Linked DNA regions of Homo sapiens: region 1 is linked to region 2. Evidence: promoter capture Hi-C in human tissues and cell types (Jung and others, 2019). All regions are on one chromosome and are shown on one strand. Each heading gives the region's core, a stretch centred on a gene start or on the middle of the fragment in contact. The rest is flanking DNA. Distances are from core to core; before and after follow the strand shown. Region 1 overlaps KIAA1549L (KIAA1549 like). Region 2 holds the start of EIF3M (eukaryotic translation initiation factor 3 subunit M).

What was found. The method cuts DNA at HindIII sites, captures the fragments that hold promoters and counts their contacts. A contact is called where the count stands out against the background at its distance.
Region 1: a contact is called between a fragment that was not itself captured here and the fragment with the promoter of EIF3M in region 2, in 1 of the 25 tissues and cell types used here (mesenchymal stem cells).

What each region holds. Positions count from the first base shown.
Region 1 is chr11:33,603,852-33,608,703 of GRCh38, reverse strand. It overlaps KIAA1549L (KIAA1549 like), which reads right to left. Exons shown (of 21, transcript NM_012194.3): 14 at 1,882-2,063. Among named protein-coding and RNA genes, the nearest start is that of C11orf91, 95 kb to the left of the region's middle. The HindIII fragment of the contact is 4,708 bases long and covers 1-3,895 here.
Region 2 is chr11:32,581,331-32,586,314 of GRCh38, reverse strand. EIF3M (eukaryotic translation initiation factor 3 subunit M) reads right to left here and starts at 2,484. Exons shown (of 11, transcript NM_006360.6): 1 at 2,386-2,484. The coding sequence starts at 2,427. RefSeq lists enhancers at 2,329-2,478, 2,121-2,773 and a silencer at 2,639-2,698. The HindIII fragment of the contact is 6,597 bases long and covers 1-3,409 here.

The DNA.
Region 1 (4,852 bases), core at 292-2,791, 1.0 Mb before region 2:
TTGACAAGGTGATGGGCCTGGGAGGAAAAGGGGGTGATAAATTGAATCTATCCCAGATTTGGAATCTGTCTCTATGACATGCACATCATTAAGCTGGGATGAAAAGATCCAGGCCTAGTGGCCATCACATGTATCCATAACTGAGCAGAGGGTCCAAATCAACAGCAGTTATCAATGCATTAGTGTCAACCTCAGAGGCCTCTAATTATGGGGTTTGCATGTCTGCTGGCAGAATTGTGCCCAAGAGAAAATTCAGTGACTGTGACTGGTTTTGAGAAGACATTCAGATTCTCAAATTGTAGAGCCAAGGGGCATAAAATACATGATCTTTCTTCACTGGCTGTCTAATGGGTGGTGATAACAACAACAGTAATAATAATAATCATCATCATCATTATCATCATCATCAAAGTGCTTATTGTGTGCCAGGCACTAGTCTAAGTAATTTACATATATTAAACAATTTGATCTTCACAGCAGCCCTATTTTATAAACGGAGATACTGAGGCACAGAGAAATGAACTAACATGCTTAAGGTCACACAGTAAGTAAAAGATCTGAGGCTCAAACCCCTGAGGCATGGCTTGAGAATCCATACTCTTTTAAGCACAATGCTATTATTCTCTGGTAGGCTGTAGTAAGTAAAAGAGAGGAAAGGAGCGCTGGACAGGAAGTCAGGGGACCTCAACCTCATGGCTGTCACCATAACCTGCCGTGTGACTTTGAACAAGCCACTGGACCCCTCAAGCTTCAGCTTCTTGGTTTAAAAAATGAAGAGGCTGAAAGAGAAGTGCTCTGTACGTCCACAACCAGTTATTTTTTTTAAATCAATGAAGGTTTACCCATCACATCTTTAGGCCATCTCAGTCTTTCTGCCCAGAAAACAAGAGTTGCTTCCTGAGTTGGGTTTGTAAAATGCTTTTATAAGTGGCCCAGATGCTGCGTATTTACAATACCTGGTTTTGTAGGGCCATAGCATGTTCCTTGAGGTGTGATGGGAAAAAGACTAAAACTTTGGAAATCTCCCACCTCTTGCAGGTAAAAATAGCTGGGTATAAACAAATGAAATTAACAACCAACCTGACAGCTTAAGAACAGAGAAAAATTAAGAGCTTGTGTGTGTACATGCTTGGGCACACATGTAATGTAAATGTTCACATGTAGGGTCCAAATGCATCTTCTTAAAGTTCATAAACATTTGCAATCCACTGGCCATTCTGCTGCTGAAGATGAAGGAAATGCAGATAATTTTTACCTAACTTCTGGCATCTATCTATCTAATTTTCTTTGATGAAATCATCACTCTATGGTGAATGTTACAATTTTTTTTTTCAGACTCTTAGGAAAGTTGACTAACATCATGATATCCATTGATAGCTTTCTGGAAGCAGCCAATGAGTTGTTTCAAGTTTGCTCAAAGGAATAAATGTCATTTCAAAGTCCCCAGAGTGGCCCACATCCCTGTCCATATGACGTTATCTTCCCTGGTTCCCTCTCAATTCAAGCCCCTTCCATCCCCACTACAAGCAACATCCCACAATGGACAGTTTAGGAGTGTCACCAAGAAAGGCAAAAGGCTGTGTGTGTGAGGGGGTCGGGGAGCAGGACGCCTGATGCTTCTCTTCATAATCACATTTTTTTAACAGTTCCTTCTGGGCTTTTAATGAACATAGGAAGTGCTCTGAAAACATCACCCAACAAATTCTTTTTGGGTGACTTGTGTCCTGATTCATTCTGCAGAGGCCTGGTACATGCAGAGGTAAAAATGACCTATACGGCCCTAGGTGCAATCTGCACCCAGTATTCACAGGTGTTGTTCCTTCGTCCGAATTTCCCAAGTCTGGCCGGACCATCTCCTGCCCTGGGTCTCCAGGCACTTACCTCGCCGTTGAGGACTGCCGATGACTCCTGGCTCCTGTCCGAGGTGGGGGGCACCATGGGGAGGGCTGTGGGTTTTATGGCAATGAGCTGCACAGACCCAGAAGATGTGTCAAAGGGTTCAGCGGCCACCTTGCTGGAGTTGTCAAATAGAACCGCTCCCTCCTCTTCGTCACTCGCTGGCACTGAAGCACAACATAAACACATCGATTTTATGATGTTGGGGAGCTGTGTGATCCCAGGAGAATTTATGTTAGACTCACAGCCTAAGGACATTACTTTACTCAAAACAACCTCAGAAACGACAGCATCTGCTTCTGTGCCAAGGACTCGCTACTGCTAGCGGTTTTCCTTTAAATTTAAGATCTGTATGATTTATCCCTCCATTGCCTTATCATGGGTGGGAAAGAACTGTAGAGGTTTGAATTTAAACAGTAAGAACCATTCTTTCAAAACTATGACATAAGACAGTTGAAAAAAATTAAAAAGTAACTTCTTTCTCTATGTTTGAGTTGGAGGTGAGAAAAGTGAGTTTGGCTAAACCTTGTAACTGTCCTTAAAATCCGACAATCCTCAGACTAACAGCATTCAGTTCAGGTTCAGCCACCAATGCTACCAATCTTTACAAGATGTTAAAGTAGCAAGTCTTTCTTGGTCAACAAGCCACAGTTATAGTGGCTGACATTCTTTTTTTTTTTCCTCTTCTGAAGGTTGTTTCCCCAGTGATTTGGGTTTTGGTTTATTTGTCTAAAATAAAAGAAAGCTACGAAAATTCCGCCAGAGAAACTAATTTGAAGCTACAGACAACTCCCCTAATTAAGTAGAAGGATTTCTACCTACGCTCTGTTAAATTAATCCTCCCTTCTGACAGATAATTCTGCTGCAATTGCTAAAAGACACCAGTCTGCCTTGAGCTTCCATAACTAAGCTGACAGAAGTTCCAGGGCCCCTGGTATCTTGCTGATTTACTTGTTCTTAAAGCATATTCCCATTAAGTAACTATAAGAAAGACAGCTTATTGAGCATGGCTAGGCAAGAGATACATTAAGCCTATTCAAACAACTAAACCAGCAGACAATTTAGGAGGAAAAGAGGTGTTATATAAAATATGAATGTAATAGCAGTGTATTCATCTTTCCTCCTGTCTGCTTGAGAGATTGGGATGTTATTTAAATTATTGAGAAACACATAGTTTGTATCATTCTGTCACTTATCATAATCACAGAAGATTTGTCAAATTAAGCCAAGTAAATTGTTATTTTTACAAAGTGGCTAAAACACTTCAGAGTCTAACAATGGGTTATAATTGGATTTTTTTTTAAGTTCTGTGGGCTGATTTGCAAATAGCAGGCCACCAAGCAGCCAATGACAGAGGAAAATCTCTATTTGAATGTGTTACCAGATGCATCCATATTTTTAGATGTAGTTTTGCTGGGCAGCTCTGGCCTGGCCACCATTATCTGCCTCCTGGACACTTGCTATACAAGCCATCTATGAAAGCCAGCCAATAAGGTGGCTCCTAAGAATTCTCACCCCCTGATATTCATACCCAGGATGAATGGGACTGACCTGTGTAACCAACAGGAAACTACAGAAATGACAACGTGTTACTTCCAAGGCTTAGTTGTAAAAAAACAAAACAAAACAAAACAAAACAAAACAAAACAAAACAAAAACTCATGACTTCCACCTTGCTCTCTCTCGGATCACTTACTCTAAAGAAAGCCAGCTGCCACATTCTGAGGACCTTGAAGCAGTCCTATGGAAAGGTCCATGTGGCAAGGATCTGAAGCCCCCTGTCAAGAGCCATGAGTGACCATCCTGCAAGCCCCAGTCAAGACTTTATTTTTTATTTTCATTTTTCTCTTTTTTAAACTTCAATAGCTTTTGGGGTTCAAGCGATTTTTGGTTACACAGACGAATTCTATAGTGGTAAATTCTGAGATTTTAGTGTACCCGTCACGTAAGTAGTGTATCCTGTACCCAATATGTAGTCTTTTATCCCTCACTCCCCCCTCACCCTCTCCTCTGTCCCCAAAGTCCATTATATCACTCTGTGTGTCTTTGTGTCCTCATAGCTTAGCTCCCACTTATGAGTGAGAATATATAGTATTTGGTTTTCCATTCCTGAGTTACTTCACTTAGAATAATGGCCTCTAGCTCCATCCAAGTTGCTGCAAAAGACATTATTTCATTTCTTCTTATGGCTGAGTAGTGTATTCCATGGTGTATATATACTACATTTTCTTTATTGGTCGATGGGCACTTAGGTTGGTTCCCTATCTTTGCAATTGTGAATTGTGCTGCTATAAACACACATGTGCAAGTGTCTTTTTTCATATAATACTTCTTTTCATTTGGGTAGATACCCAGGAGTGGGATTGACTGCTGGATCAAATAGTAGATCTACTTTTACTTCTTTAAGGAATCTCTGTACTGTTTTGCATAGGGGTTGTACTAATTTACATTCTCACCAGCAGTGTATAAGCATTCCCTTTTCACCACATCCATGCCAACATCTATTGGTTTTTGCCAGTTAAGACTCTAGATGACAGCTCAGGCCAACATCTTGACTATGACCTCATGAGACCCTGAGCCAGAATGACCCAGCTAAACCAGTCCTAAATTCCTTACCCACAGATATGATATGAGATAATAAATGTAGATAATAAATTTCAGGTTGCTAGGTGCTGGGGTAATTTGTTACATGGCAATAGATAACTTACAGACCTTCTAAACAACCTTCCACCTCTGAGCTTTCCCTCTTCTCCCTCTATCCCTAAAATACATATTCCACCAGTAACCAGGATGGATAAACTTTCCAGAAGGTAACCAGATGGCATTCTTCCCCTGACCAGAACCCTCTGAAGGCTTCATCTCTGTCAGAATAAAACCAAGGTCTTCCCGCCAAGATCCTGTCAATCTAATGCTGGCCCCCTTGCTGAACTCATTTAGTCCCTCTCCCCTCATCTGC
Region 2 (4,984 bases), core at 1,235-3,734:
TATTTATTCCATTTTTCTTCTGGGACTCTTTATGGCAGCCAAACAAACGCAGTTTTTTTTTGTTTTGTTTTGAGATGGAGTTTCACTCTTATTGCCCAGGCTGGAGTGCAATAGCATGAGTGCAATGGAGCGATCCCGGCTCACTGCAACCTCTGCCTCCGGGGTTCAAATGATTCTCCAGCCTCAGCCTCCCAAGTAGCAGGGATTACAGGCATGCGCCACCATGCCCAGCTAATTTTGTATTTTTAGTAGAGGCAGGGTTTCATCATGTTCGTCAGGCTGGTCTCAAACACCTGACCTCCGGTGATCCACGGGCCTCGGCCTCCCAAAGTGCTAAGATTATAGGCGTGAGCCACCGTGCTCAGCCTGGTTTTAAAGATAATAAAATGAGGATGTGCAACAGGAATATGAAAGGATACCATTAGTAAATGCACAGGCATTACATTTTCTAGACCAAGCCAAAAAAAAAAAATTCAAAGCCATCAAGATTTTTAAACCCCCAAGTATATTTAGTTGCCTCAGGAAAGTATTAAACCTGCAGATCTGACGGTACTATCCTTTCAGGTAACAAGAACACAGTAACTTCATAGAAGAGTTGGTATTATAAGCAAAATTAAAAAAAGAAAACAAACTGTCACCATGTCAGAGAAAACAAAAATACCTCCAGAAATCATGCTTCATGCTTCTCTATGGAGGAAACAGATACACAGCAAACTTTTTCTAAGAACTATTGAACCACGTTTGCTGTTTTTCTGTCATCCTCACTGCCACAAGTGGTTGTGGAAGCAGCATAAGCAAAGGAAAACAAAAAAAGATAAAGAATTCCATTTAACTCTAATCAAGCTGAGAATTTCACCAAAGTTAAACTAATCCTGAGCAATTTCATATTTCCCTGAAAGGACTGTCTACAGCGATACTGATGTTACAAGAACAGAAGCAGAGCCTGAGAAAAGACACTTTAAGATACGATCAATGACAAGAACTTCCTCCATTCACTTTGTATGTTAAAAAAAAAAAAATTCCAAACACTTTCTCAGTTAACCTAACAGCCAACTGTTGGTAACATGCTTCCATTTCTAATCAGGTATCTTTTTGTCTTTCATATCTTCCTATCTGTGCTTAACCTCCCCATCCTTGACCTTTTCTCCGCCTTTTGCATTTTCCCTTCTTACTTTGCTCTTCAGAGCATCGGAACTGCATTCCTACCATGGGGCGGGGGGAGGAGAGAGGGGGAACTCACTCCCGCAATTCTGTAAGTTGTCTTAGACAAGTAAACTTCCATGCGAAGTTTATGATATCCAATCATTTGGAAGTTACTTCCGTGTTAGTGGAGTAACAGAAATAAAACGACAAAGTTAGGACTTCACAGAAGAATTTTCAGCAATACAAAATTAACTTAAAGAATACGATGTCGTGTTCAACTCCTACCAAATAAGGTTAAACTTTTGTTATGGGGAAAATGAGAACCATCAGCCCTGTATACCAAAGAGCAAACGCCAAACGGGAAATTTAAAAATATCAGGATGGTCCATCAGGTGTATGCCTCACAGAATTTAAGAGCTGAACTGATACCATACTTCCGGGGTACAGAACAACTCTCACCCTCATACAAGTAGGAATAGAAAGCAAGTGTAAAATACGGGTCGTCTTCGCCTGTGATCGCACAGTAATACGGGCGTTTTGATCTTTTTTTTTTTTTTTTTTTTTGAGAGGGACTCTCGCTCTGTCGCCCAGGCTGGAGTGCAGTGGCGCGATCTTGGCTCACTGCAAACTCCGCCTCGCGGGTTCAAGCGATTCTCTTGCCTCAGCCTCGGCAGTAGCTGGGACTACAGGCGCGTGCCACCGCGCCCGGGTAATTTTTTTGTATTTTTAATAGAGACAGGGTTTCACCGTGTTAGCCAGGATGGTCTCGATCTCCTGACCTCGTGATCTGCCCGCCTCGGCGTCCCAAAGTGCTGGGATTAAAGGCGTGAGCCACCGCGCCCGGCCCGGCATTTTGATCTTTAGCACAAAATTACTTTTCCCTACCCTGCTTATGCTAACTACAGATTCACCACCTCCCACTCCGAATGTGGCTGCATTTGACGGACGGAAGCAGACATCATTCCTCATCAGTCTAAAAGTACTATGTCGTCAGAAATGAGTCCCGACGCCGACCAGGGAGCTGGCGGTGAAGCGTCGGGCCCCGCGCTGGGACCGCCGGCCGGCGAGCTGGTGCGAATCGAGGCCAGGAACGCGCGCCCCAGCCACCGGCCTCCCCATTCTCGCGTGTAGAACAGCTGCGGGTGTCAGCCCCGGCCGCCCGGCCCAGGCTCGGCAGCGGTCCCTTGCGCTACTAGGACATCCCCCACCCCACCGTGGCGGCACCCGTAGACCGAAGCACACCTGATCTTCTTCACTGATGTCGATGAAGGCCGGGACGCTCATGGTGCAGGCCCGGGCACAGCGGACACTCCACTCGCAAGACCACGCCGACCGGAAAAGGGAACTGGGCCGCGCGACGCTGCTGGCGCAACTGCTTCCGGGTCACCCTGAGCGGCGACCTGTTGGGGCGGGGCCTTGAGAGCCAATCCTATCGCGCGCTCTCGCCGCGGAATGCAGCAGGGCGTGGCAGACGCGCTCGGGCTGGCCTAGTGGGTGGGACTTACTGGGCCTCCACTCAGCGACGCTTGTCGCGGCCTCCAGTTTTCAGGCCCGTGTAGCTAACTGCATTGATGTTGCCTCCCGCTGGCGCCTCCCTAAGTCCACCTTCCCTTGAAATGTTAAGCTTGTTGGGTCTTACCAAGTATGGATGGGTTTGTGTAGACCTGAAACTCTCCTGTACTGCTGTTGGGAACATAAAATGGTGCAGTCACTTTGCAGAGGAGCGGCAGTTTCTGAAAAAGTTCAGTATCCACCCAGCATATGACCCAGCTATTCTTCTACCCAAACTGTATGTCCGTACAAAGACTTGTACAAGAATGTTCATTGCCGCTTTTAAAAAATAGCAGCTTTGGCTGGGCGCAGTGGATCTCACGCCTGTAATCCCAGCACTGTGGGAGGCCGAGGTGGGCGGATCACTTGGGGTCAGGAACTGGAGACCAGCCTGGGCAACATGGCAAAACCCCGTCTCTACTAAAAATACAAAAATTACCGGGGCATAGTGGTGCGCGCCTGTAATCCCAGCTACTCGGGAGGCTGAGGCAGGAGAATCACTTCAACCTGGGAGAAGGAGGTTGCAGTAAGCCCAGATCATGCCACTGCATTCCAGCCTGGGCGACAGAGCGAGACTCCGTCTCATAAAATAAATACACAATTCAGTAGTTTTTAGTATTTTCAGAGTTGCACAACCATCACTACTATTTAATTTTAGAACATTTTCATCACCTACAAAAGAAACTACCCATCAGCAATCACTCCCCAGACCCCCGGCCCCACCTCTCTCCAGCCCCTGGCAAACACTACATTTTGTCTCTATGAATTTGCCTTTTCTGGACATTTCATGTAAGTGGAATCACAAAATACACGGTGGCCTAAGTCAGACTTACTTCATTTAGCATAATGTTTTCAAGGTTCGTCCATGTATCCCTCCTATATTCCTATTTATTGCTTATAATATTGCATTGTTATGGATATACCACATTGTGTTGATTTGTTCATCAGTTGGTGGACACTTGGGTTGTCTCCATTTTTTGGCTATTATGAATAATGTTTCCATGAACGTTAGTGCACAAGATTTTGTGTGTACGTATATTTCTCTTAGGTATGTACCTATGAGAGGAATCAGTGGCTTATTTAGTAAATTTATGTTTAGCTTTTTCAGGAGACAGTTTCCAAAAAGTTAACACTTTATTTTCAATAGCCAAAAAAAAGGAAACAACCCAAATGTTCATCAATAGATGAATGAAGTGGATCAAAAAATTGTTATACATCTGCTTAATGGAATACTGCTGTGCAACAAAAAAGGATGAATTATTGATACATGCAAAAACACAGATGAATCTTTTTTTTTTTTCAGTCTCTTCAGCCTGGGTGACAAAGTGAGTGAGACTCCATCTCTTAAAATAAAAGCTTGATTTTTTTTCTTTAGTTGACAATCCCAAAATAATTCAAAATAATTTTGTTCAGTTAATCATCATACTGTATGATTCCATTTATATAAAACTCTAGAAAGTAGAAACTATAATGACAGCATTATAGATTGCTGTTGCCTGGGGGCAGGGATTGGGTAAGGCGGGGGGAAAGATGGATACAGAGGGGCTTGAGGAAGTTTTTGGGGGTTATGGATGTGTTCATTATTTTGACTGTGATTGTGTCATGATTGTATACATATATAACATTTTTCAAAGTGTGCAGTTCAAAAATGTGCAGTTTATTGATACCACAATTATACTTCAATATAAAATAAATGCCAAGCAAAGGAAAAAAACAAGGTTGAGGGGATAGAGGACACAAAACATCTGGCTAGACTAAATTTGAAAGGATTCATTCTTGCATGGAATAGCCTTAACAATGTGGAAAGTGAAACTGAAGGCAGGGAACCTGTGTCATGTTCACCCTGCATTTCCGCACCCACCTCAGTGCCCAGCCCACAGCAGATCATCAGGAAATACCAGTTGATTCTGAAGGAATAATCCCTGGGCTCCTCCCCTCGCCTTATTATTGCAAAGTTCGAGGAATACAAACTCAACAATACAATACCATTTTATCAAATATTTAAAAGACTTGTCTCTTTTTTACTATTGTTATTTTTTTTTTCATTCTGTGATCCTTGTGAAGTAAAAGAACACCCAGGGAAATTCTTGAGAGAGGATATGGACAGTTATTTAAAACTTTAAACTTTCATTCATTCAAAATAAACACACACACACACACACACACACACACACACACACACACACGATGGAGGTGTGGTAGGCCCGAGTAGTCTTGGGAAATGCAACATTTGAGTAGGAAATGCGGAAATGCCTGTCCTCAGTTATTTAAAACTTTAAACTTTCATTCA